7 separate regions of the Homo sapiens genome follow, and all the other regions are linked to region 1. The links are contacts of gene promoters, found by promoter capture Hi-C in blood cells and fetal thymus (Javierre and others, 2016). All regions are on one chromosome and are shown on one strand. The core of a region is centred on a gene start or on the middle of the fragment in contact, and the rest is flanking DNA. Distances in the headings are between cores, read along the strand shown. Region 1 holds the start of USPL1 (ubiquitin specific peptidase like 1). Region 2 overlaps UBL3 (ubiquitin like 3). Region 3 overlaps UBL3 (ubiquitin like 3). Region 4 overlaps UBL3 (ubiquitin like 3). Region 5 has its middle 19 kb from the start of LINC00544. Region 6 overlaps HSPH1 (heat shock protein family H (Hsp110) member 1). Region 7 overlaps LINC00365 (long intergenic non-protein coding RNA 365).

Evidence for each region. The method cuts DNA at HindIII sites, captures the fragments that hold promoters and counts their contacts. A CHiCAGO score of 5 or more calls a contact.
Region 2: a fragment that was not itself captured here is called in contact with the fragment with the promoter of USPL1 in region 1 in 1 of 17 cell types (naive CD4 T cells); the score reaches 7.5 in naive CD4 T cells.
Region 3: a contact is called between a fragment that was not itself captured here and the fragment with the promoter of USPL1 in region 1, in 1 of 17 cell types (naive CD4 T cells). The highest score is 6.8, in naive CD4 T cells.
Region 4: a fragment that was not itself captured here is called in contact with the fragment with the promoter of USPL1 in region 1 in 1 of 17 cell types (total B cells); the score reaches 5.2 in total B cells.
Region 5: a fragment that was not itself captured here is called in contact with the fragment with the promoter of USPL1 in region 1 in 3 of 17 cell types (naive CD4 T cells, non-activated CD4 T cells and total CD4 T cells); the score reaches 5.7 in naive CD4 T cells.
Region 6: a contact is called between a fragment that was not itself captured here and the fragment with the promoter of USPL1 in region 1, in 1 of 17 cell types (endothelial precursors). The highest score is 5.2, in endothelial precursors.
Region 7: a fragment that was not itself captured here is called in contact with the fragment with the promoter of USPL1 in region 1 in 1 of 17 cell types (neutrophils); the score reaches 5.1 in neutrophils.

What each region holds. Positions count from the first base shown.
Region 1 is chr13:30,616,092-30,619,616 of GRCh38, reverse strand. It overlaps USPL1 (ubiquitin specific peptidase like 1), which reads right to left and starts at 1,697. Exons shown (of 9, transcript NM_005800.5): 1 at 1,561-1,697. It also overlaps a transcript of HMGB1 not described here. RefSeq lists enhancers at 1,620-1,669, 1,690-2,019, 2,070-2,209, 2,230-2,299. The HindIII fragment of the contact is 4,577 bases long and covers 1-3,525 here.
Region 2 is chr13:29,762,310-29,765,834 of GRCh38, reverse strand. It overlaps UBL3 (ubiquitin like 3), which reads left to right. Exons shown (of 5, transcript NM_007106.4): 5 at 1-1,464. Among named protein-coding and RNA genes, the nearest start is that of UBL3, 87 kb to the left of the region's middle. The HindIII fragment of the contact is 1,204 bases long and covers 1,179-2,382 here.
Region 3 is chr13:29,779,127-29,782,651 of GRCh38, reverse strand. The region is part of intron 1 of UBL3 (ubiquitin like 3); the gene reads left to right. Among named protein-coding and RNA genes, the nearest start is that of UBL3, 70 kb to the left of the region's middle. The HindIII fragment of the contact is 2,766 bases long and covers 417-3,182 here.
Region 4 is chr13:29,818,426-29,821,950 of GRCh38, reverse strand. All of the region lies in intron 1 of UBL3 (ubiquitin like 3), which reads left to right. Among named protein-coding and RNA genes, the nearest start is that of UBL3, 30 kb to the left of the region's middle. The HindIII fragment of the contact is 547 bases long and covers 1,332-1,878 here.
Region 5 is chr13:29,953,358-29,956,882 of GRCh38, reverse strand. No RefSeq gene overlaps it. Among named protein-coding and RNA genes, the nearest start is that of LINC00544, 19 kb to the right of the region's middle. The HindIII fragment of the contact is 1,754 bases long and covers 797-2,550 here.
Region 6 is chr13:31,140,811-31,144,335 of GRCh38, reverse strand. It overlaps HSPH1 (heat shock protein family H (Hsp110) member 1), which reads left to right. Exons shown (of 18, transcript NM_006644.4): 12 at 413-544; 13 at 3,077-3,214. Among named protein-coding and RNA genes, the nearest start is that of HSPH1, 19 kb to the left of the region's middle. The HindIII fragment of the contact is 1,942 bases long and covers 763-2,704 here.
Region 7 is chr13:30,102,970-30,106,494 of GRCh38, reverse strand. LINC00365 (long intergenic non-protein coding RNA 365) reads left to right here. Exons shown (of 2, transcript NR_046998.1): 2 at 800-3,317. Among named protein-coding and RNA genes, the nearest start is that of LINC00365, 4.1 kb to the left of the region's middle. The HindIII fragment of the contact is 8,986 bases long and covers 1-3,525 here.

The DNA of each region.
Region 1 (3,525 bases), core at 448-2,947:
TTGGTGCTAATTTTATACTTCATTCTGCGTAGAGAAGCAGTACACGTCGTATCATTCTGCGGTACTCTCAAATGGGAAACTAGTAGGCTATGTACCTTGAATAAACTGTTTTTGATGAAAATTTCCATCTACCTGAGGGAACCTAGAAAACTTTTTCAAATCAAACGGTTTTCTCTTTGTCTCTCTCAATTATAAAATATAAAGAGTCTCCAAATCTGCTCTCCTGATTCCATCACCCAACATTTCAGCGGGAAAAACCAGATAGGTTGGTGGTTGAAATCCCGAATATATAGAATCCCCCAAAAGAAAATTCATTTAATACCAGAGGTTTATTTGTCCATATGAGGGACATAAAAAAAATACCAGAGGTGGGCTCCCCAGTTCTTCTTCCAAATACAATTCACTTTGACTTACATACAAAATCCCGGGGGGGATTTTACAACTTAATTTGACCCTAAGTAACTGCTCTTCCTCCCTTCAAAAACAATCTGCTCCTCCTTCCCATATCTCACTTAAATGTGGGCGTCTCCATCCTTCCAAACACACAGACTAGAAAGTCTTGAGTTGTTCCCTATTCTTTATTTCCCTCTTCGCACAGTAAGTCACCAAATTCTGTGGACAGTTCTTTGGAAAGGTCTCAAATCTCTACCTCTTTCCCTTCCATATCACTGTCAAAATGATGCCTCTACAAGTCTGAGCCTGTCAATGCTTAGTTTAAAATTCTCTATTTACTCTAGCCTGATTACAGCAAACTCCGTCCAAACAGCCCAATATAACCTAAAGGTAGTATTATGACCTAAAGCTCATTGTACTGTGAAACCAACCTAGCTTTCCAGTTCTGTCTTCCTCAACTCTACTTCACCCCCAGCATCTTTCTTCTAACATCCCCTTTTCATACTTCTGTGAACCACTTATACTCCAGAAGCCTTAATGTGAATTATTAGCCCAGCATGAACCCAGTTAGATAGCACAATGAACGTGTCAAGGTGGCCCTGGGAATCGCAAAAAGTATTCAATTAAACTTAATTCACACTCCTGTGTGCAAAATGGAGAAACCCAGGGAAACAGCTGTTCGAAGAGGGGGCCTTAAACCCACCCATTTGAGCTCGCCCTCCGAGAGCGAGTAGGCTCGGCACGTGAACTGTCAAAAGCGAGGCCACAACCGACCTGGAAGCCGAGGAACAGGGTCAGCTTTCTGCACCCAGCCCTGTCAGGTACCAAACCCAACTGTCTTGAATCAGAGACGAACAGGACCAAAGGAGGTGAGTTTCAACACCCAAACTAAGAAGCCGAAGGAGGCGCAGGGTCCGTTAACCCTGCCCATCTCCACGCTCCTTGGAAAACGAAAACAAACTCTGGTTTCTCTTCAGCGTTCACCTCTCTGCGCCCAAACGGATCTGTAAGTCCAACTCTATACCTTAATCATCAACCTTTCCCACTTGAACCCCGTCCCAGCCCAGCCCATCCTTTCAGCGCGCCGACTACCCCATAGGTCATCCCAGCTCTGTCTCTTTTCCCAATTTCGAGAGCGGAAAGAAACCCCTCCCTCTTCTCCCTTACCTGCCGCGGGCACTCCCCTTCTTGGTACCGGGTCGATCGGAACTCCTGTTCCAGCTTGATCTCCACCCTAGTTGCAACGTTCAACCCACGTTCCCCTCGGACTGCTCCTCCCCCACTCGCGTCTCCACTAGGAAGGCGGCTTCCGGCTTGAGTCCGCGGCAAAAGAGTCCTCCTTCCTGCTGCACGCTGGGCCTGAAAGGACGGTGGCGTGGCGGGGAAGGTGAAGACGTGAGCACTTCCGGTCGCCCTCCGCAGAGGCGTGGCTGTCCGCCCTGTGGCCGCAGACGCAGTTGCGACTGCGGCGACGAGGAGGGGCGGGGCCGGTGGCTGCTGAGCCCGCCATGTGTGAGTGGCTGGGTTTGGGGAGGCGACGTTTCTGGAAGCTGCTGGAAAGCGCCCGAGTGGCGGAGGTGGCGCCAGCGGCCAGGGGGTGGGGCGTGATTAAAACTAGTGCGCGGCTTTCTGCGGAGGGATTACGCTGACGAAAGAGACCTGCTTGCGCGTCGCTGTTCCGTGGTCCGCGCGAGCGTGGTCGGGAGCCGCTGGTTCCTGGGGTGACCCGCGGAGGTGGGAGAGGGAAGGGCTTCCGAAGCCGGCGGGGGTGCCATGGACCCTCTCCGCCGGCGCGGCCTTCACAGCTGGGCCGCGCCGGGCATCCGTAGTCCGCTCTCCCAAAGCCTCGGTGGAGCTGAAGCTGCCACAGAGTGCATGTTCACAAAGGGTCATCACACACGGAGCTGCCCCTCCCTGTCTCCCTAGAGCCCATCTTCGAGGCCAGGGGCTTTTCTACCAGGATTCTGGGGTGTTTCTCCTCCTTTCCTCCCTCCCAGATCTTCTCACGGTAAGGGGAGCAGCGAAAGCGCAGGGACTTTGCATTCCACGACCCGTTCTGACTAGTCAACAGCCGATCTGTCCCTGCTGCTCTAATTCCAGCTGCCCTGCCTTGTTTTAACTTCAGAGAAAGGGGGAGTTCTCATTTGATAAGTTTAAGCCTTTGCTTTCGTAGGAAGGTCATGTGGCTTAAGGGACATCGTGACCGCGTATGCTATTTCTGCCTGTGCATTCTAAATCTTGGGGGCAGCATATTCCAGAAGTCCTTTTGGTCGATTGGTTCTGTGTCCTAGGATAACAATTTGTAGTTTCTGACCATTTCTTTACAGAAAAACCACAATTGGTATTTTGGACTGCGGGGTTTTTTAGTGGTCTCAAACTAAATGATTATATTCTGGAATAATGCTGACAATTTGGATAGGGTGGTGTGGAGGAAACAAGTCTCGTGTAGAAGAAATTATTTAGTAAAAAGGATTTTAGTTTTTGGTACTTCTGAATGCAAATGGCCAAGGAATCCAGCAGTTTGTTGGGGTTTCTCCAGACAAAAATAGGCTGGTTAGTTTGTTTACCTTTTTCTGTTGCTTTACTAGATTGTTAATGTATTTGTATATTTAAGATCTAGCTAGTTAGGTTTTTCTTTTTTATGAATTGTGATTAAAATTGGAGAAAGTAGTACTTCCTCCTGAAATAGACAAAACTCAGAGGGTTGTTTTCTTGTTCACCACTGCTACTTCCATTTTTAGAATGGAATACACTATTTGTAAAAAACAAACTTGCTGAGTATTAACTCATAAATTGAACAAAACAATTGGTTCAGTTAAAATGTAGCTAAAATTGTAAGACTGCAAAACAACATCACCAAACTGAATTGTATTTTTTAAAACGTTGTCTGCAAAGTTGAATTTTAGTCTTTCAGTGTAAATTTGGTATTTTTTCAGAAGAAAAATTAGTAACAGAAACAAAATGGAGGCGGGGCTTGAGTTGTAAAGAGAAAGGAAGGGATTTTAGTGTGTTCTGTGTTTTCGCTCTAGAGCTTTTTCCTCTTGTAAAAGGTAGTACAAGACTTATAAAGGGAAGAACTTTGGTACAGGAGATCAGCAGAGATTGACTAGAAAACCCCTTTCGTTTATATTA
Region 2 (3,525 bases), core at 531-3,030, 850 kb after region 1:
CAGCGTTGTTTAAATGTAATCATGTTATTTTATTCATTGTTAATGCTTTGATGAAAAGGCTTTATATGCAGTAGATCTACGAAAATATTGTTCATACTGATCAGAATTAAATTTGTATAGAGCAGAGTTTTAAAATGAATGTAAATAGCACTAAACGTTTTCTTTCTGCAACCTGTACTTACAGATTCTTCCTGTAAACTAAATAAAAAAAAAATGATAGTGCATTTTGGTGGTAATTTTAAAGGTCTTGATTAGGTCAATAATTGTTTAAGCACCGTCTCATTCATGTTTTCTACTTTCATTTCTTAAGCTTTTAAAATTCATTTAATTAATATTCTGTTGTTGTTTTGGGGAGTATTCCCAATGTATCTTTGATATTTAACCTGGTTAATTTGTGGACAGTCACAACAATGGATAGAATTATGTAGTCTCCGTTATCACTAAAATGTTATCTTCAAGAGATGTTAAATATTTATATGCTTTGTTGACTAGCTGAAATGTGAATTCTGTTAGTGTTGACTAAAGAATCTGGTAGTTGCTTAATTGGGCAATTAAACAATTTATGGCTCTATTTTGTAAAACAAACTACTGGTAATTATTTTTAATACCTATTTTCATTCTGATTACTCTTTTTTTAAGTTAAAGACTATCAGTTAATTAAGATTGAGTTTTTATGATGGTTAAAAATAATTCTCTATTGGTTTTTCAATATATTTTTCTGTGTGTTCTCAGATTATATATTTCCCTCAATTTAGAGTTTGCTAAGTGAAATAAACTGGTTCACTAGTAGAGAAAGAATTACGTCGCTTAATACCTAATATCATAGTTGTACAATATGAAAAAAAAGAATAAAAAGTAGCAGTAAAATTATATACTGAAAACACCAAAAATTTAGATGCCTTAATAGTATATACGTGAAATACTCAGCTGTCCCTTTAAAAATAATTCCTTGGACTGCCTGGTGGTTAAAATACGATTCCTCATATCCAAGGCTACTTTTGAAGATCCCTCTGCCAAAAATATAGCTCACTTATCTAAAGGTGAGAGCTGCATAGATCCAGTAATGTACATAAAGCCTGAATGATGAGCCTATGTCCCTGCCTAACGCTGGTGTCTCACTCATCTCTTTTACCTAAATTGTCCTGAACTTTGTTAAGTGTTCTGGACAAGGCCAAGCTTTTCTTTATTAAAACCTCAGCATGTCTCCCTGATCTGAACTATTTGCTTTCTCTTCAAGATAAGTTGTATTTTACCATGGAAAAATACAGTATCTAACATTACCATTCACGTTAAATGAAGTTTCCTCATAACATTTATCTTTAGTTTTATGAAGTCATCGTGACCAATGTTACAGTAATTTCTGTTAGCTGATTGTGGTAAACAATGTTTAATGTGAAAAGAAATTAAAACTTTCTTCATCTGTTGTAGAATATTTCTCTTCTTTAAAATGGCTTCTATTCATAATTCTGGTGTATTTGCCTATTCTTTATTTCACTACTGTTTATGTCTTTTTTTCTTTCTTCAGTTAATGATACTCTTCAGTAAAAATCAACATTGAGCCAGCCTTTGCTATAGTTTAGCAAAATCAAAGGGAAGTATCAGCCAAAATTTAATATGCCTTCATACCGTTTTTATTTGTAACTTTTTCGAGCATTCCAGTTTGTTTTCCATTTTTGTGTTATAATATGGTCACTTGTTAGCCAAATGGAGTGATTGGGGTGGAGTGATTGGGGTGGGGGAGAAGGCACATGACCTATAATTACAAACACAGCTATAATTGAAACACAGCTGCAGGCTGTGCTGGAGTCTAGGCACAGTTTTTGTGGCCAGGGTAGGGTGGGGTTCTTGGGTGTGAGCAGTGGTAGTTGGGTGTGACTCCTGGCTTACCCTGACCCCCTGCCAGTTGGTGTGTTTCCTTCAGAAGGCAGTGGCTTCTATGAGGCTTTTACACAGGAGGTGGTTGACTTCTGAAAGAGATCATGGATAGAACTAAATGAGAAACACTTAGTTCTTAAATATCAGAGTTTAAAGCAGTACTGAAATGTGAAAACCAATTTCACTTACTACATTATTTTATAGTCTTCGACAGTGATGTCAGATGTTTGTCTTTTAATATTTTTCATATTCCTCTTTTTCAAAATGACAGCTTTCAAGAAATATGGAGTAGGCATAGTAAATTCCCATTTGGGGAAAGGAAATGCCCATCTCTTCCACGTGAGTCAACCAATAAAAAAGGAGTTGGGTAAACACATTTTCTAAAATGGCTCTGGAAGTGGTTTGTTGTTAGAAGTCTTAGAAGAGTCTGGCTGGTTTTAGAATGTAGTAATTACACATTCAAACATTATTTGGTATCTTTTATTTTCTACACATGTTCTTGAAGCTTATTTGATGTAAGGGAAGTCTTACAATGAAGTGGGAGAAACTTTGCTATAGTTAAATAATACAAGGAGGCAGCAGAACCTGGAGGGGAACCGGGACAAGCCGCAGCAGAGTGGGACCCTCAGAATTCTTGTAGGAACATACAGGAAGACATCTGGGAGTTGGCCAGTTCTCAGTTGTCTGCCAGACGAGATAGTTTTTCTTCTTCCCTGCATGCTGGAACCTGTTTCCCCTTATGTCCTTCCTTACCACATGGTTTTCCGTGGGCATCACTCACCTGGGTTCCATTAGGGTGCCACTCCCCCAGTGTTTCTCAGGAGCATTTTTTTTTAAGTCTGATAATTTTAACACATCTACATTTTGACTGATGCTGTTCGTCAGTCCTCAGAGTTCAGAAAACCACAAGAATAGCTGGGCTTTGGAGTCAAGCCTGACTTTGTTCTGGGTGATTTTGAAGAAGTTACTTAATATCTGAGCTTCAGTTTTTTCATTTATAAAAATTAACACATAGTTTAGAGGGTTGTAAGGTTTATTTTAAAATAAATATTTAGAGCACTGATTTGTCTGAGAACTCATGCAAGCTAGCAAACCTGTCAGAAGGCCTTATGTTGGAAATAAAGTGCTGGGCATCAACGTATACTCTAAACTTTATGGAAGTAGCTTATGAAAAGGCCAGAGAAAATGTGGATGATGCTGTGTTCATTTAAAAGGAAGATGAGTGGGGACATCTCAAAAATAAGCTCTGGAATAGAAGGAAAATAGGGGACCCAGTAATGACACAGCTTCAGATGTGTATATGCGAGGTACCAGGTCATACATAGAGCTTAGACATGTTAACATAAGGACATAAACATAACTGTCAAAATCTGAGATGCTATTTGTTACTAGGGTACAAAAATACACTGTTCAAAAGAAATGGGTCTAATAAAGGTGGGAAACTATATCAAGAATACACAAAGGGAACTTAGACCTGAGAGGGAAAGTAAATGAGGAGTATGTGAATAATGAAAAAAGACAAAAATATGATTGTCAGGTTATATTGTACTTTTTCTTCATCAGATTAAGGCTATGGATTTCTGTTCTGAATCTGCAACAGGAAAACACAGAGACAAGACATGGTAGTGATGCAGTAGTTGGGCTATAAAA
Region 3 (3,525 bases), core at 550-3,049, 840 kb after region 1:
CTCTACTGTGAGTTAACAAACTCAAATGTTTTCTGGAACTAGGCAGTTTCCTGAGTGTCTGAAGCAGGCCAGGGGGAGTAAGGAGGGAGTAGTAGGGTCTGTGTCAAACCGAAGATTCATACCCACCTATAAACATTAAAATAATATTTTTTAAATTTGGTTCAAACATATTTAGAGGCTATGAGTTTCCAACATTCTGAACATCTAGATAAATATGAACTCTTTAGACCATTGATTTTTGAAATATGAAAGTGTAATATCAGTTTATTGGCAACTGTGATGTGTGTTAGTTTTAAATTAGGAAATGCTGAGAATTTTGTGGCAGGAACCCAGTTAAATTTATGGAGTACAGTATGTGTGTCTTGTTTTGTCTTGTTTTGGTTTGGTTTGGTTTTCCTCTCACAAGCTTTTAAGCTTGTGAGTGGAAAAAAAGAGATTGGGAATGTTCAAAGATAATTGAACATTATCTAGAACATCTAGAACAAGGACATCTAGAACAGAAGGTCTTAGGTTCAATGAATAGTCTTCAAAGGATCCATGAATATCTTATAACTTTATTTTTAAATGTTGTATTTCTATATTTCTGTGCTTAATGTTTTCTATAAAAAGTAGGCTTTGTTGATTTATGTTTATTTTATTTTTTTTTTTAGAGATGGGGTCTCATTCTGTCACCCAGGCTGGAGTGCAATGGCATGATCATTGCACTGTATCCCCACAGCCTCGAACTCTGGGTGCAAGTAATCCTCCTGCCTCAGCCTCCAGAGTAGCTAGTACTATAGGCATGTGCCACCACACCTGGCTTTTTTTTTTTTTTTTTTTTTTTAATTTTTTGTAGAGACAGGGTCGCAATTTGTTGCCTAGGCTGGTCTCAAACTCCTGGCCTCAAGCTGTCCTCCTGCTTCAGTCTCCCAAAGTGCTGAGATTACAGCCGTGAGCTACTGCACCTGGCCAACTTCATTTTTTAGAGCAGTTCTAGGTTCACAGCAAAATTGAGAAGGTGGCAGAGATTTCCCATTTACATTTTTCCCCCATGCATGCACGGCCTCCCCTATTATCAGCGTTCCCCCACCAGAGCGGTATTTATTACAATTGATATGCTTATTTGTCTACTTAAGAAAATCATTTATATTTCTTTGAAAGCCCATACCGATACAGTACTTGATAGCGTTAACTTTTTAAAATATTAATAGTTTATTAGGAATATCCTGAAATGATTGAGTACTCTTTGAATTAAATGTTACTCTATTTTAAAAGTAATACAGACTTAATGTGAAAATTAGAAAATGCAGGAATACATGAAGAAACTAAAGATGAAATAAGGACTGTTATATTTGGTACATATCCTTCAAGACTTTAGTTTGTACATATATATGTGTGAGATATACACATCCATGCTATTGAAATATAACCAGAGTTCTGCTTTGTATTTTAGGGTTTTAAACTGTCAGAAGCACTATTTATTTATTTATTTATTTTGAGGCAGAGTTTTGCTCTTGTTGCCCAGGCTGGAGTGCAGTAGTGTGATCTCGGCTCACTGCAACCTCTGCCTCTGGGGTTCAAGTGATTCTCCTGCCTCAGCCTCCCAAGTAGCCGGGACTACAAGCGCGCATCACCATGCTCTGCTAATATTTTGTATTTTTATTAGAGACCGGGTTTCACCAGGTTGGCCAGGCTGGTCTCGAACTCCTGACCTCAGGTGATCCACTTGACTCAGCCTCGCAAAGTGCTGGGATTACAGGCGTGAGCCACCGCGCCTGGCTAGCACTTTTATTTAATTCAAAGTTATAAACTTACAAACTGCTGTACCAGAGAGGCAAGAAACCAAGTTGCTGTAATAAAACATTTTGGCAGCAAGAGAGTCCTGATCTCTTTATATGGAATGACAGGAAAACAAAGTAGAAAAATTTGTCACTGAAGATAGAAAATATAGGATAGGTAGGATAGGTAAATGTAGTCTTAGTTATACCTTTTCTCAACCTTATTAGTAAACAGGTTACTTGTTTAGCAACCCATGAATATTCTATATTTCGTAGCCTGTTATAGCACAGCAAAGGAATTTATAACGAAACTTGAATAAACAAGATGTTTTTAGATCCAAGTAATTTAGTTTTTAGTTTTTGTTGATTTTTTTGTCAACCTTCTCACCAATCAGTTTCTATTTTATCAAAAGCTGCTTCCCGTTTTAAAGGGAGCCTCACATTTCTTATTTGCTATATATATATATATAACTTATTATATATATATACACACACACACACACATATATATATATATATATATATATTTTTTTTTTTTTTTGAGACAGAGTCTCGCTCTGTCGCCCAGGCTGGAGTGCAGTGGCACAATCTTGGCTCACTGCAAGCTCCACCTCCCAGGTTCACGCCATTCTCCTGCCTCAGCCTCCCGAGTAGCTGGGACTACAGGTGCCCGCCACCATGCCTGGCTAATTTTTTGTGTTTTTAGTAGAGACGGGGTTTCACTGTGTTAGCCAGGATGGTCTCGATCTCCTGATCTTGTGATCCTCCCGCCTTGGCCTCCCAAAGTGCTGGGATTACAGGCGTGAGCCACCGCGCCTGGTTTATATTTTTCTTTGTGTGTATTATTCAACTTAGGCTGCCACAGCAAAATACAGTAGACAGGCAAAATACCATTGCCTTCTTGCTCTCCCCACCTGGAGGGCAGGAAGAGAAGAGGGAGAGAGCATAGGAGCCGAGCTCTTTCTCTTCTTATAAGGCCGCTGTGGTACAGACGAGGACCTCACCCTTACGATCTCACTTTAACTTTAATTACCCTATCCTCCAGACACAGTCACTTTGGGAGGTAAAACTTCAATACAGATTTTGGGGAGATGCGAGTCAGTCCATAGCAAATAGGCATGTGTTCTGTTGTTCCCACAATACTGTTTTATACCTGGCTGCTTTCTCTCACTTAATATATTGTGGCTATCTGTTCATGTCAGATCATACAGGTCTTTATCTCATGTCGTTTAACAGCTGCATGGATTTCCATGGTAAGGATATACTATCATTTATTTTCCCATTTCCATATTGATAGACATCAGGGAAAATCAAAAGTAGGCTTTGGTGTCACCTTTACAGATCCTAAAGACTAAATCTATTTCCTTTCATCATTTTTAAATATTATAATTTGAGTAAAAGCCCAATGGAAATTAATTTTAAGCTTAAAAAATTTTAAGAAGTATTAAGTTCACATAATTTGCATAACTCTTAATTAGAAAGCTTGAATTTAATTATATTTTTTCTAGTTAAACACAAGTGGCTGAACTACTAGGGGCAGAATTTCTTGGGCATTAATGACTGAAGAACCTTAAATATTCCGTATAAGTTCATAGGGTAATATGTATTTGTTATTCATACATTAAGAGAAAACCATGAGTAGTAATGTATCTGTGAGGACTGAAATTCATATTGTGTTGCATAGATGTTAGGTTCCTTGCTTGAAGAATTGCTCATTACTGATTTGCTATAGGAAATAAACAAGGTGGTACTTTCGTAGAGTGTAATC
Region 4 (3,525 bases), core at 356-2,855, 800 kb after region 1:
TTTAATTTAACAAAGAGCTTTAGGACTAGTTGTAATCACCTAGCAATTACTCATAAAATTGTTTTTAATTTCATCTATGTTCCTTGAGAGCCACTGTGTTGATGATTCTGTTTTGGGGATTTATGTGCAGTCAGATAATTCATATTTTGTATTTCTGTACGAAATCAATGGAACAAGACAAAAGTAAACTTACAGAAAATTAGTAAAAAATTTTCATATGGTCTCGTACTAGAGAATATAAAGCAAATAAAAGATTTTTATTGGCTAAAAACTAAACTTTGCTACCTGTGGAGTACGTATGTAATGAATAAATGATACACATACAAAGTGTTAGAAAGCTCAACCAAAGAAGTTAGCATGTTCTTTTGGAAATGAGAATGTCTTCATGTTCCAGTGACATTTAGTATCTGGAATGCAGTAGTAGCCCGATCTTACTTTAGAGGTTTTAAAGTTAGATTTACCAATAAATGTCTGCAAAAGGTATTACATCTGGCTTCCTGAGCAATTTGACTAGTTACCCAAGAGTTGTGATTACTATGACATGACGCAGTACAGCTGTAAAAAATAAAGACAAATTTAAGTTTAGTCCTGGTATGTATACACAGCTTTGCTATATTACAAGAAGGGTATTTTCTTTGTGATGAGTTTAGTGTAATAAATCAAACACATATATAACCTATAAGTAATAGGTTAAAAAAGTATAAATATATTGAAACACTGCTCAGATTTCATAGTCTTTTTTTTAACAAAGCTTTTTTGGTACTTAGTAAGCTTCTTCTTTGTGTTATTTTTTAATAGTGAAATACCAGTTGCTGGCATCTATTGAGTGCCCAGGTGGGCACTGTTTTATGCTTCACACATGTTTACTCAGTAAAATTTCCCTACAATGCTATTAGGTAGGTATTATTATTATCCCCATTTTACAGATAAGGAAGCTGAAACATGGAGATTTTAAAGCAGTTTTCTGGTAACTGGTGGAGCCAGGATTCAAACCCTGGCATTCTGTTTCCAGAGCCTATCATGTGACAGTCTGTTATTCCCAGAATTCTGGGAAGGCATACTCTGCTATTAAATACTATATATATTAGAAATAAGGCAGTTCATTTTATATATGCATGTGGTAAGATTATAGAACAAAAAGACAACAGTCATTTAACAAATAATAGCAAATAAGCTGAAGGGTTGACTTCAGTAACTTTAGAATGTAGTTATGTTTACTGTTTTTCTCATGGTCAGAACCTAATATGTTGATTTAAGCAATGTCTATAGTTAATTCATTAGAATGAAAGGACAGAAATGTAGTGGATGATAACTCAAGGGAGAAAAAAGCTTGATATAATAGTTTTTAAATGTTTAATACTATTTCAAATATAGGAACCATGAGTGAAAAATAAACTCCAGGATCGCAAGGAATCTGGGGAGTATCCTAAACTCAGAGTTCATTCTGAGTTACTATAAAAAGTCTGAGGACTTCAGGCCAGGCATGGTGGCTCACTCCTGTAATCTCAGCACTTTGGGAGGCCGAGGCAGGCGGATCACCTGAGGTCAGGAGTTCAAGACCAGCCTGGCCAACGTGGTGAAACCCCATCTCTACAAAAATGCAAAAATTAGCTGGGCATGATGGCACATGCCTGTTGTCCCAGATACTTGGGAGGCTGAGGCAAGAGAATTGCTTGAACCTGGGAGGCAGAGGTTGCAGTGAGCCGAGATCGAGCCACTGAGCTCTCCAGCCTGGGTGACAGAGCAAGACTCCATCTCAAAAAAAAAAAAAAAAAAAAAAAGGAACTCTGAGGGCCTCTCAGTGGGATTCTAATTTCTGATACATCTTTCTTTTCAGGGTCACTCGCATACTACTATTAGGACTTCATTAGAGAAGCTTCTTTCCAGAAAAGAAAGAAAAAGCCATATGTTGGAATAAGTTAAGAAACATTGTTAGGCTTATGGGAACACCATAAATCATCCTATAAAGCTTATTTGTAGAACCTTTTACGTTTTTGAAATGGTTGACATTTTATCTTTGCAGTTGTCTATAGAAAAGTTTTGGGGGTAGGGATTGGGGAAAAAGGATTATTGTCCTTGAATTATCTCCTGTGATAGAGGTCTCAGGTCTTGAAATCAGCCCTTTGACGTTAATGAATCTTTATCATTAATTCTTGGGGGTGGGGGCGGTGGTGTGGTCCTTGGATTCTTTCTAAATCATTTCTCTCCAACTTGGAAATATGGTTCTCTTCTAACTTTTACCTTTTTTAAAAAAAGTGATGTCTTTTCTGGTAGAAGAAATTTTATTTTTGAAAAATGCTCATAAAAAGAAAGCTACATACTTTGCAGTATCCTAGTATTTTAATTCATTATCATAAGTAAGCAGTAATTATATAGGTTCTATTACAGAAAGTATAACTGCTTTATTGTATTAAATCTTCTAGTCCTGTGATTGGTAGGTTAATTTTTTTCCAGCTTTGTAGAAGTACCATTGTAACAATCTCCTTAGTTTATGGACTTGGCCAAATGTTGTATTCACAGGTAACTGTTTCTTTTGAACTCTGAGCATCTTTCTTTATCCCAGGATTTCTGATATGGATAGCCTTGATGTGGTTAAGGGTAAATGCAACAAAATCACCTTACTTGGCCTTTGCCTTTCGTTTTACGCTTCATAGTTCTCCTTTTCTGTCCCAAAGCTAAACATGGGGTTTAACTCTCTCAGATTATATTTAGAGAGTCACTTAGGTGGGATTTTCTAAGCACTTTTATTTTAACTTTCATGAAAAATTTCAAACATACAGAAGTAGAGAGAATATTATAATAAAACTTCCATGTATCCATATCTCAGCTTCAACAGTTGTCACCTCATAGACAGTAATGTTTTATCTGTATTTGTACTTGCTCTACTTGCTCCTTCTAAATTATTTTGAATCAAATTCCACATCTTTCATAAATATTCCCAGATATGTAATATATAGTGATTATTTTTAAAACAACCATAATACTCTTATCACACCTTAAAAATTAGCAGCAATTACCTAATATTATCAAACACACAGATATAAAGCATGTAAAGATGCTGCTATCTTTTAGCAATTGAAAAATTAACATTTCAGAATGTGATTAGTGTTAAAGTGGTTTTTGTCTTGTGAACATTGTGAAGGGGAGAACGCATGGGAAAGGTCTTTTTAAATTCTGTCTGAGACAGTATTCTTAGAGTTCTGGGTTTTTTAGTCTTAAACTAAAATGAATTAAGTCTCAATTTGCTATCAAAATATACAAGCTGTTATACATTGGCCACTAAGGTGAAGTGCAAGCACACTTGTGATAGGCGTATTATGTGAAGTCAGAACTTTAAAAATAAGGAAACAAACACTTTTTTGAAAGGCTGGAAAAACTTCCTTAACATTTAAAAATAGTTCTTAAACAGAGAAAAATTTGTCAGGTGATTGATTGGCCTTAATTTGAGAAATTATTAGTTTTCATCTTCCTTTTTTATTGGAAGGAAAAGGAAGAAAATAGTTATTTGTGTACTTCTGATCAAGT
Region 5 (3,525 bases), core at 424-2,923, 660 kb after region 1:
CACTCCTTTCCATCACGTTTGAGCTGGAACTCAGCAACTCTGCAAAATTTTAGTTCCTCTTTTTCTTCATTTTTCCCTTCCTCCCCTCTTTTCTTATTCTCCCTGCCTTTCCTTCAGCCTCTTCTTATTTTAATTGGCCTCCAAGCTCTGAGTCTGCCCTTCTTCACACTTTCTTCTCAACTCTTTCCTTTCCATTTCTCTATTCATCTTTTTTACCTTTCTTGTCTGAGGATATGAGTTGAAATGAATCCTTTAGTGAGAAGGTGACTCGATTTACATGCAGAATTTCAACGCTTTCAAACCTCTCTTGTTTGTGAACCTGTTGGAAAGCACTGATGGCCATGCAGGCAGCAGGTGTAGAGAGTGATCCTCTCAACGCTTGGTAGCTGAGAACAATTCATATTTATCATACTGGCTTTGGTCAAGTCAAGTGTGAATGGTGTTTGACTGTACTCATTTTACTTTTTTTTTTTTTTTTTTTTTTGAGATGGAGTTTTGCTCTGTTGCCCAGGCTGGAGTGCAATGGCACAATCTCAGCTCACTGCAACATCCACCTCCTGGGTTCAAGTGATTCTCCTGTCTCAGCCTCCTGAGTAGCTGGGATTACAGGTGTACACCACTATGCCCAGCTAATTTTTGGTGTTTTTAGGAGAGACAGGATTTCACCATGTTGGTCAGGCTGGTCTTGAACTCCTGACCTCAGGTGATCCACCCACCTCGGCCTCCCAAAGTGCTAGGATTACAGGCGTGAGACACCGCACCTGACTTTTTTAACATAAAAAAAGTGCTTAAAGCTTGGATCAACTCCTCTTCTGATTGATCAGTATTTCTGGGCATAGTGTTTTTTGTTTGTTTGTTTGTGTTTATACTTGTTATCTGGATATGTTTTGGGATCAAATAAATACCAAATCACAGAGGTTATCGAATAGAGTTCTTTAAAAAAATATTTTCACAGCCGGGCCAGGTGGCTCATGTCTGTAATCCCAGCACTTTGGGAGGCTGAGGTGGGTGGATAAAACCTGAGGTCAGGAGTTCGAGACCAGCCTGGCCAACATGGTGAAACCCCATCTCTACTAAAAATAAAAAAACTTAGCCGGGCATAGTGGTGGGCACCTGTAATCCTAGTGACTTGGGAGGCTGAGGCAGGAGAATCACTTGAACCCAGGAGGTAGAGGTTACAGTGAGCCAAGATCACACCACTGCACTCCAGCCTGGGAAACAAGAGTGAAACTCCGTCTCAAAAAATATATATATATACTTTCACATCTCCATTGGAAATTTTTAAAAGAAACTTTTTTTTTCTGTTTAATTGATGCCAGGTACTCAACTCCCAATGCCATCACTCCCACCAATGCAGACTCAGAGGAAGAGTTGCAGGAAGCAGGGATCCTACTGGTCTTTCTGTCACTATAACCCAGCCCTGGCATGGAGCCTAGCACATGGTAGGGGCTCAAAGGACATTTGCTGAATGCATGAGTGAGTAAGTCAGCTGAGGGTGCCATGGAGGGGGCTAGAGGACGCTGTGCTGCAACCAAGAGCTCAGGGCATCCTGCTGTCCTTGGAGCAGAGGGAGGTTTTGCTGGGACAACAGAAGACCAGAGAAAGTGAAAATCACACTTTGTTCTTGCCCAGATATCTCAACCCCTCTGCCATCCAAAAATCACATTTCTGTTTGGTATACTAAATGTTTATTGAAACTTTTGCTATATGTAGACTCTATGTTAAACTCTAGGGATACCAAAATAAACAGGACATTTTCTCTACCGGCAAAGATCTCTCAGTATGGTAAGAAAAAGAATGATTTTTTAACTAAAAGGTTATACCTCCATGTGTTACATTTTGGACTAAGCTGAAGCAATATTTTATTTTTTTAAATCAGGTAGATGAATCAGTTTGAATTGCCATTCTGTGTGTCTCTCTATTTCCTAAATATTTTGCGCTGAAATAGCACAAGAACAGCGGCACATTCCCACAGACGGCCCCTGACGGGACTGTGTTTGGGCCGAGTCCATATTTCCTCCGTCTCTTGCATCATTTGTTCTTTGCCCTTTGCAAATCTCAGCACCATTTCCTCCAGAGCAGCTCCTGGAATTTTCGATGGGAGCTGTCACCTGGAACCAGCGAGCTTTCTCTTTCATACCTGTCATAGAAGGAGCTCACTTCTCACGAAGACCCGCCCATTTTACCCCCGACCCCGCTGTGACGTTAGGGAAAGTTTCCTTCTCTAGAAGTGTCTAGAAACATGCTTGGCTTTAACTAATGCATCTAGAGTGTCCCATCTGTTTAACAGCACTTTGCTCAAGGAGCCCACGTACTTGTGTTCCACTTCCTGCCTTGGCGACAGTCTCCGCAGGACAAGCCCGGCCCATCGCAGAAGCCCCGTGTCCTGTAGATGAATGAGAACTTAGACAGCTAACATTCTACCTGATGCTGGAACTCAAGGTCCTTGACAAATGACCATGTAGCTTACATTCTGAGAAGTGACAGTGACCTCTCCATTGTTGGAGAGTGCCATTTCCAATTCTGAGCACTTTAGTTTGTTAGAAAGCTTTTTTCAGCAAGTTGTTTTCGTCTATTGAACTCAAAATCAACCTCCTTGCCACTTCCTTCCTTATTTACTTCCTCTGTCTTTCCCTTGACATTTACTCACTCTTTGCTCCTCTTCTGTCTTGTCCTAAAATAAAACCGATTTATTCCTTCGTCCTCACAACACCTCCTCCAATATTTGAAGACAGGAAGATAGTTCCTTGTTTTCTCTCTTCCAAGCTAAACACACTCAGAGCCTCCGGCCAGCCTAGATCAGGAACCGTTTCTAAAGCCCTCAGCACCTCCACCCTGCCTTTCTAAATGAGACATCTTAATTATAATGCCTTGTAGCGAACATTATTTTCCAATTATCATCTGACCAGCATATAGTGTTACTGTTACTTATTATCTGGACACGGTATTTTTATTTAATGGAGCTTACAATTACATTCGCTTTTTAAAGCGACTGCATTACTCTGTTGGATCACATGAGCTTTTGGCCGAAGAAAAAGTCCAGATATTTTGAAAACAGAACTGATGGCAATTAAAGCAGATCTCCCCCGTTATGCCATTGCGCAATCAATTTCTGGACCTAAATGTGTTGGTACAATACCAGCTATATTGACGTAAGGGTATTCTTCAGAGTCATCCCAAGCTAGTTTCTGGCTTGTCACTGGAACCCAAGCTCTACCTCTGTACCCGGTGCCTGCCCACTGGAATGTAAGGTCCTCAGTTTCAGCAGCCCAGCTTGGGTTGAGACAACATCTCTGCTTTTTTTTTTTTTTTTTTTTTTTGAGACAGAGTTCTGCTCTTTCGCCCAGCCTGGAGTGAAGTGGTGCAATCTCAGCTCACTGCAACCTCTCCCCCACCACCCCATCAAGGGTTCAAGTGATTCTCCTGCCTCAGCCTCCTGAGTAGCTGGGATTATAGGCACCTGCCACCATGCCTGGTCAATTTTTGTATTTTTTTTTTAGTGGAGATGGAGTTTTGCATTGTTGG
Region 6 (3,525 bases), core at 484-2,983, 520 kb before region 1:
ATATGTTGAGATCCATGATGGCTGCTGGTAAAATAGGTTTTGGAAGCTTGTTTCTAGGAAAGAGGCCTGGAGTAATCTATTTCCAGTGCCTTAGAGAATTAATATCTGTACTAACTTAGATGAGCTTCCTAAGGGAGAGTTCTTGATTCTTGATTGTCATCACATCAATTAAATGCTTACTTGTGTTATTTAACGATATTAACTACTGTCATTCAAAGAATTTTTTTACAGGTTTAGAATTTCTACAGAAGTTTTCAAGTACTTTGTTCATTTTGTTTTTATCCAGTACCTTTTCTCCCCACCTGTTAAGATTTCAGAAATTGAGTGTACTTTCTTTGGTGCCCTTTAACTTTAAAAATTTATACAAGTACACCTGCTTTCTACATCCTTTGTGCCTGGGCTTTCATTTCAGAAAAATGTCCAGCAAGACAACAGTGAAGCTGGAACACAGCCCCAGGTACAAACTGATGCTCAACAAACCTCACAGTCTCCCCCTTCACCTGAACTTACCTCAGAAGAAAACAAAATCCCAGATGCTGACAAAGTGAGTGACTCTTCTAGTTCATTCCATTAGACAATGTTGCAAAGTGTAATCATTAATGATATCATTAAATTGCAGTTTCAAGAGCAAGCACCAATTGATTTCGTTCTGTGTAGGATTTTTTTCTGTTGATTTTCTATGTATTTTTCAACTAAAACCAGTTAGAGGTATTCAAGCTCAATTAAGGGAATTGAATGTCCTGCTTTAAACTTTTAAAAGCTTCTCTTGATTAACTGCCACTCGAAGTAACAAGAGACTAATGTATACTGTTCGTTGTCTTTCAAAGAGCAGAGGTATCTTCTAATACCAAAGGCAGAACTTGATATTTACCAGGGCTACATGATTAGTTTTCACTTGAACTAATCAGATGATAAATATATGGGCTATAGGAGTCTAGTAAACTTTCTCCTCTCAAGCCATCGGTCAAATTTAAGTAAATTAATTATGGTGATCTGGTAATAACCAGATTGCACTTCAAGGTAATTATTTTTTTGTCCTGCTTCCACAGTAGGTATTGGAAGCTAACTTAAATAGTGATGTTGTGTGCCTTGGAAAATGACAGTTTGTAATCAAACCTTTAAGATTCATGGTCAGAAGGATATTGAAAAATTTCTGTTGTTAACTATGAATCACCGTATGTTTTGTAGAACTTTATTTTCTGTACAAGTTACATGTAAATAATTAGCCTGCTCTTGGTTGTTTGGTTTCTCTTATATTCTGAGGGTAGAGTTTTTTATCCTCAGGCAAATTACAGAATCTTTCATTGGGTCAGGATAGGTTTCTATACTATGTAAAAGTTTCCAGTTTTTAATTTTTCTGTCCCCTCATTGATCCTGGGGGCTCCCAATGTGAGCTATGGGTCCTGACTCTGATTTCTGAAAGCTGCTCTCTGTTTTCTACTGTTAAGTTGTGTGATGATGGTGGTTATTTGGAAAAATAGATGCTTAGTTTCAACAGCACACTCCTTGACTTGGGATGAGCATACACATCAACTCTTGCCGATAGTCTTAGTACCTGTCTAGAACATGACATTGGGTAGGATCTCATTCATGCTCCTTAGTTGTAGGTAGGACCACTAGTCTCAAACCTTTTGGAGCATGATTACTCACCCCTTTGGAGACGGTTCCTCATCCATTCCATGTTGAAATGCCATTTTGTGATGCTGGTTTTGTCAGTAGTTGGTTTAATTGGGTACTATCAGGTTGTCTTGTCTTCATTTAACTTCCGTACATGTGCTGTTATCCATTTGTTTCCCAACATCTGTTGCTCTCCAGTGTCTTCCTAGGTGTATGTTTGATTGGATTCATTTTTCTTTCCTGTGGCTCATGCCCTCAGAGCATGCATAATGTATTGAAGGATTGTGTGCACTAGCAGGAAAATGATGTGGGGAGGACTGTAGGCTGACTGCCTAGCTCATCCGTAGTGATACAGCTTATGGCACTTGATAGGTGATTTCTAAGGAACACTGAGATCAGTCTCTGGAACGTGGGATCTAATTCCATCTCTTTAATTTTAGGCAAGTCATTGAACTTTCTAGACCCAGTTTCTTCGATAAAGTGCCTAAGATTTTTAATCCATTGTAACTCCTCAAAATTATCTATGGCTATGATTATTGTGCCTCATGGGCCAGTCTCTTCCCGTTTTACCATCCTACCTACAGGATACATGTTACACACTGTGGTTGTCATCTGATCTGTCATACAACTGAGTCTGCTCAGTTGTGTTCTTTGTCATTTTTGTATTAGTAGGAACCTGCAGAAATGGAAATGCATAGCAAAGGCTTGGAAAATTGAAGGCCACAGGAGATACTTACTTCTTTAGCCCTGTATTTACATATTTTGAAAAACCTACATAAATGATTGGCATGTGTCACATCAGTCCATTTGCTACTTTAAGACTCATCTCTTTTTACCTTGCAAAGTTGCTTATGAGAAATGATACAATTCAAAGGTGGATAGTAATAATGTGTGTGTGTGTGTGTGTGTGTGTGTGTATGTATGTGTATGGAGTATATATATATGTACTCCAAGTTCAATAAGGAAATTTTAAAAGGCACTCATCAGCATAGTGCTAGTTGTAATTAAAGCAGGCATACTGGCATATAGGGCCTTTAATATTACAGGAATTAAGATGATCCTAACGTGTTTTGTACTGGTCGAAGCTTATCCTTAGGTGACAGGTTCTAGAGTCTATAAAGATAATTTAGTAATTTTCACTTTTTGACTCATGGGATTTACAAGAATATTTAAAGGGCTTAGAAAGTAAAGACTTGCGAAGAAAAGCTTTAGCAGGAGAGATTGTTCAATATAGAAGAGAAAAATATCCCAGTGAATTCCTGAAGGAAGGTATGGCATATTTAATAGCAGCCCTGATTTAAAATAGTGGGAATTAGGTGATCCTGTAGATCCTTCCAACTTTATGATTTTTAGAGATTTTATTTTTGCCCAAGTCATCAGTAAGTATGAGGACATTTTTTTTGTGTTTTTCCAAGTGGGTTGTTTAAAATTTTTTCCTTTTTTTATTCCTCTTCCCAAGGCAAATGAAAAAAAAGTTGACCAGCCTCCAGAAGCTAAAAAGCCCAAAATAAAGGTGGTGAATGTTGAGCTGCCTATTGAAGCCAACTTGGTCTGGCAGTTAGGGAAAGACCTTCTTAACATGTATATTGAGACAGAGGTAAGTACTTCAATTAAATATTTTTATTTTGAAATATGTTTAGTTTCTTGGCCCTGATATCTATATTTCTAGTAGATAAATGGCCATAATTCTTTCTCATCCCAAGTTTTATATAGTTTTAGGGATAGGATGAAGACAAAACTAACGAATTTTGCAGTTTAATTTTTTTTAACAAAAAAATCTTTCTGCTTGATATAACATGATTGGCTGAGTTCTTGTGAAAAAATTGGATGGCAATAAATCATAACAGAGCACAGTACAGTTGGAATTTCACGGCACACTAAATATTTCTATTAGAATACATTGTATTT
Region 7 (3,525 bases), core at 474-2,973, 510 kb after region 1:
ATGGTGGGTTTATTATTATGTTTCATAATCAGATATTGGATTCATAATTGAATCAATATTATTGGATTATTTTAATGTACTGAATATGACTACATTTTTTGAAGAAGAAGATAATGAGCAAATGTGTTTTTGAATTTCCTTCTAACTTCTAATCCATCCTGCTTTATGCCACCAAACAAGTCTTCCTAAAACACTGATTTTAACCATGTCGTGGCCTGAACACAGTCATCAGTGACTCTACCTGTAGACAGATAGAACTCCACCTTCCTTACCTGGCATTTGAGGCTCCCAACTTGTTTTTCTGTGTCTAATTTCTTCACAGAATCTTTCATGAAATAAGCTACCCTCACTGTCCTGTGAATGTGATTTTTGTGTTCTTAATGTTGCACCTTTGCTCACACCATCATCCTCACCTCCCCTGATAACATCAACACTATTAGGTACTTACTGTGTATCAGGCACTCTTGTTCACTAGGAAAATAAAGAAATGGTCCTTATCCTTAGTCTTTCCACGCCCAGCTCGAATACATTCCCATTGATTGATTCATTCATTCAGGACGCAGTATATCTAATCTAGGACCCTGTTCTAGAAGCTGTGAGGGAAACAGGGTTGAGTGAGAACCAGTTCCTTCCCTCCAGAGGCCCCATGCTGGAACTCTGCTTGGTTCCCTTCATGAAACTTTATGCTCTCCTCTCCCCACTGAAGCCCATGGAAATCTAGCTTTTCTCAGAATTTCTAATGGAACAAAGCAAAAACTGACTCAAGTGTTCCTTTTATTTATTTACTTGATTTTCTAAGGTTGGGCAAGATAGAGGAGGAAAGGACTCTACCTCATGGCTTGTCCAGAAGAGGGCAGGGCCACCCCTGCAGCCAGGCCTCCCGGGCCCTGGAGGTAGGAGGGGGACGATGGCCTCTAAGAGCACTCTGAGACCAGGAGCCTGTTCTCTCGGGCCTGAAGGCTTCGCTTCCACTGTTCTACGCTGCCGCCCTGGCCTGGCCACCTCCCCTCCACTGTGTGGCTGGCTTTTCTCTGCCTTCTGCTGCCTGATGGGATCTCCCACTCACCTCCACGAGGATCTGAGAGGAAAGGGTGCTGAGGAGAGGAGCGTGGAGTGGGCAGGCTCTTGATGCCAAGCCAAGAATCTGCATGGCTCATTTGAAACTTCGCAGTGCCCTTTATCTCTTGTTCTCTTTTATGTATAAGCTCGTCTTTCTCCCATACAGTTGTAAACCCCAAAGGGTAGGGACTGTATTCGGTTCCTTATTTATATCCTGTAAGACAGTGACTCTCAAACTCATCAGAATCACCTGGGGAGTTTTAAAAACTTGATTCCTCCAGAAACCATAAAGACCAAAGATTTAAAAATATCACCATATTAAAACAGAATGAAGCAAAATCCTTCTGTAAAGCTAAACAAACAAACAAACTCATGAATCAGTCAGAAGAAATTATAAACAAGGGGAAAACAGTATTTGGAATATAGATGGAAGACACACTAATTTCTTTAATTTGCAACAAATGTCTATAAATAAGAAATATACAAACAACTCAATAAATGCTGGGCCAGGAATCTGAACTGGCAGAACATGGAAAAGAAATACCAGTGACCAAGAAACATATGAAGAGCTGCTCATCCTTCCTCAGAAATAAAGAGACGCAAATCAGAACAATGCCAGACCACTTTTCATGAATCTGATTAGCAAAAATTATAAAGTTTCATGATGCCCATTGCTGATGAGAGTATGGAAGCAGATGCCAGTGAATGCAAACTTGGTGGATTTTGGCACCTGTGTGACAAGGTGGGGCGGTGGTTCTCACACCTGCATGAGCTTCTGAATCACATGATGAACTTTTAAAAACATAGATTCTCTGCGCCCCCATCCCATACTGCCATAAGGCACCCGCGTGTAACTAAGGGCACAATTTGTGAAGTTCGAAATGGTAATAGAGACCAGACTAGTAAATTTCAACTAAAGGAATTTTGTCAACATACATCAACATTTTTAAAACATGAGTAACCTTTGACCCAGCAATTCTACTGATGGGAGCTGATTCTGAAATTTCCCACAGAAGAGTATCAACGTCGGCAAGAATGGATGCCCACAGCAGCATTATTTGTATAGCAAACAACCTCAATGTCCATCAATAGGAACCTGGATAAATAAACTGTGGCACACTCTTAGATCTTTTAAAGAGATTTAGTAGGAACTCCATTTGCTGATATAGAGCAGTCTCTGAGTTATGTTGTGCAATGAAAAAATCAAGCAGCAGAGCAGTATAAATGGTGTAATCCATTTTCCACATAACTTTTAAAATGACACACCATATACTTTGGTAAATGCACAAATTCTTTTTCAATGGAAAATCTACAAGAAGCTGATAACAGTGGCAACTTTGAGGGAAGGATGAGAAGAGAGGTTCTTACCTTTCATTCAGTACTGCTTGATTTTCCTACTTCCTACTTTGTGCATTGATTAGTTTTAGTGGAGAACTTCAGTAAGTGTCATCTGAAAGGTGGAGTTATGGGACAATTTTGGTTTCTCCTTTAGAGTTTTCTGTAAAGGATATTCAATAATTGAAGATTCTCAGGCCATATACCAGATACACCAAGTTTGGGTGGAGATGCTGGCATGGGACTCTAGAAATCAGCTTGTCGTGTGATTCTGCTCATCAGTCAGGTTTGAGACTCACTGCAGAAGATTCTGGAAGAAAAATGCTCTCTTCTCTAGCTCAGGGGTTATGAGGATGAGAGGGTGGGGTGGCTGCAGCCCTTTTGTTTCCATGAAAGGAGAACCTGAATGACCTTGTGCAACCTAAGGTCAAAGAAATGCATGGCTGGCAAGTAAACCACAGAGAGGAACTTGTCCGCTGGTACATCAGTAGGCCACAGAATCATGCCTTTCCCGAAGAAGGACGTCCTGTGTCTAGACTTTTCAGTTATGAAGCCAATACGTCCTCTTTGTTGTTTAATGCAGCTTGAGTTAGGTCTTTTGTCACATGCAATATTAAGAATCCTAACTGATAGACCTCCACTGAGACAAGCTGAGTATGTCTTTATCTCTTGCAGACTGAAATTGCCTAATTTATAAAGTATTTCATGATGTTTGCAAGATAAACCCTTGTCTGCTGCCTTGGGCTACATCTGATGATTGCCTGCAATATTTCTGCCTCTAGAAATGAACTGTCAAACCAAGAAGTATGTCCTTGGAATGCATCCTCCACTTTAGCAAAAGAATTATGTGTTTTGTTTGCTCTTCATCATGTAACTCTTGAATAAATTTGGATGCAACAGATTAAGGGCATAACCAGGAAATATTTCTTGTGATATAACTGATATCTGGGTTTGTTCACTTAATCATTCATTTGACAAACATGTGATGAGGGCTCACCATGAGCCGGATACCTTGCTAGGCATTGGGTGGGTATACAATGGAGAACAAAGCAGACATGTTCTCTGCCCTCATAGAGGTTGTAAGCTAATGGGAGAGACAGATATTAAACCAATAACCAATAATCACACAAA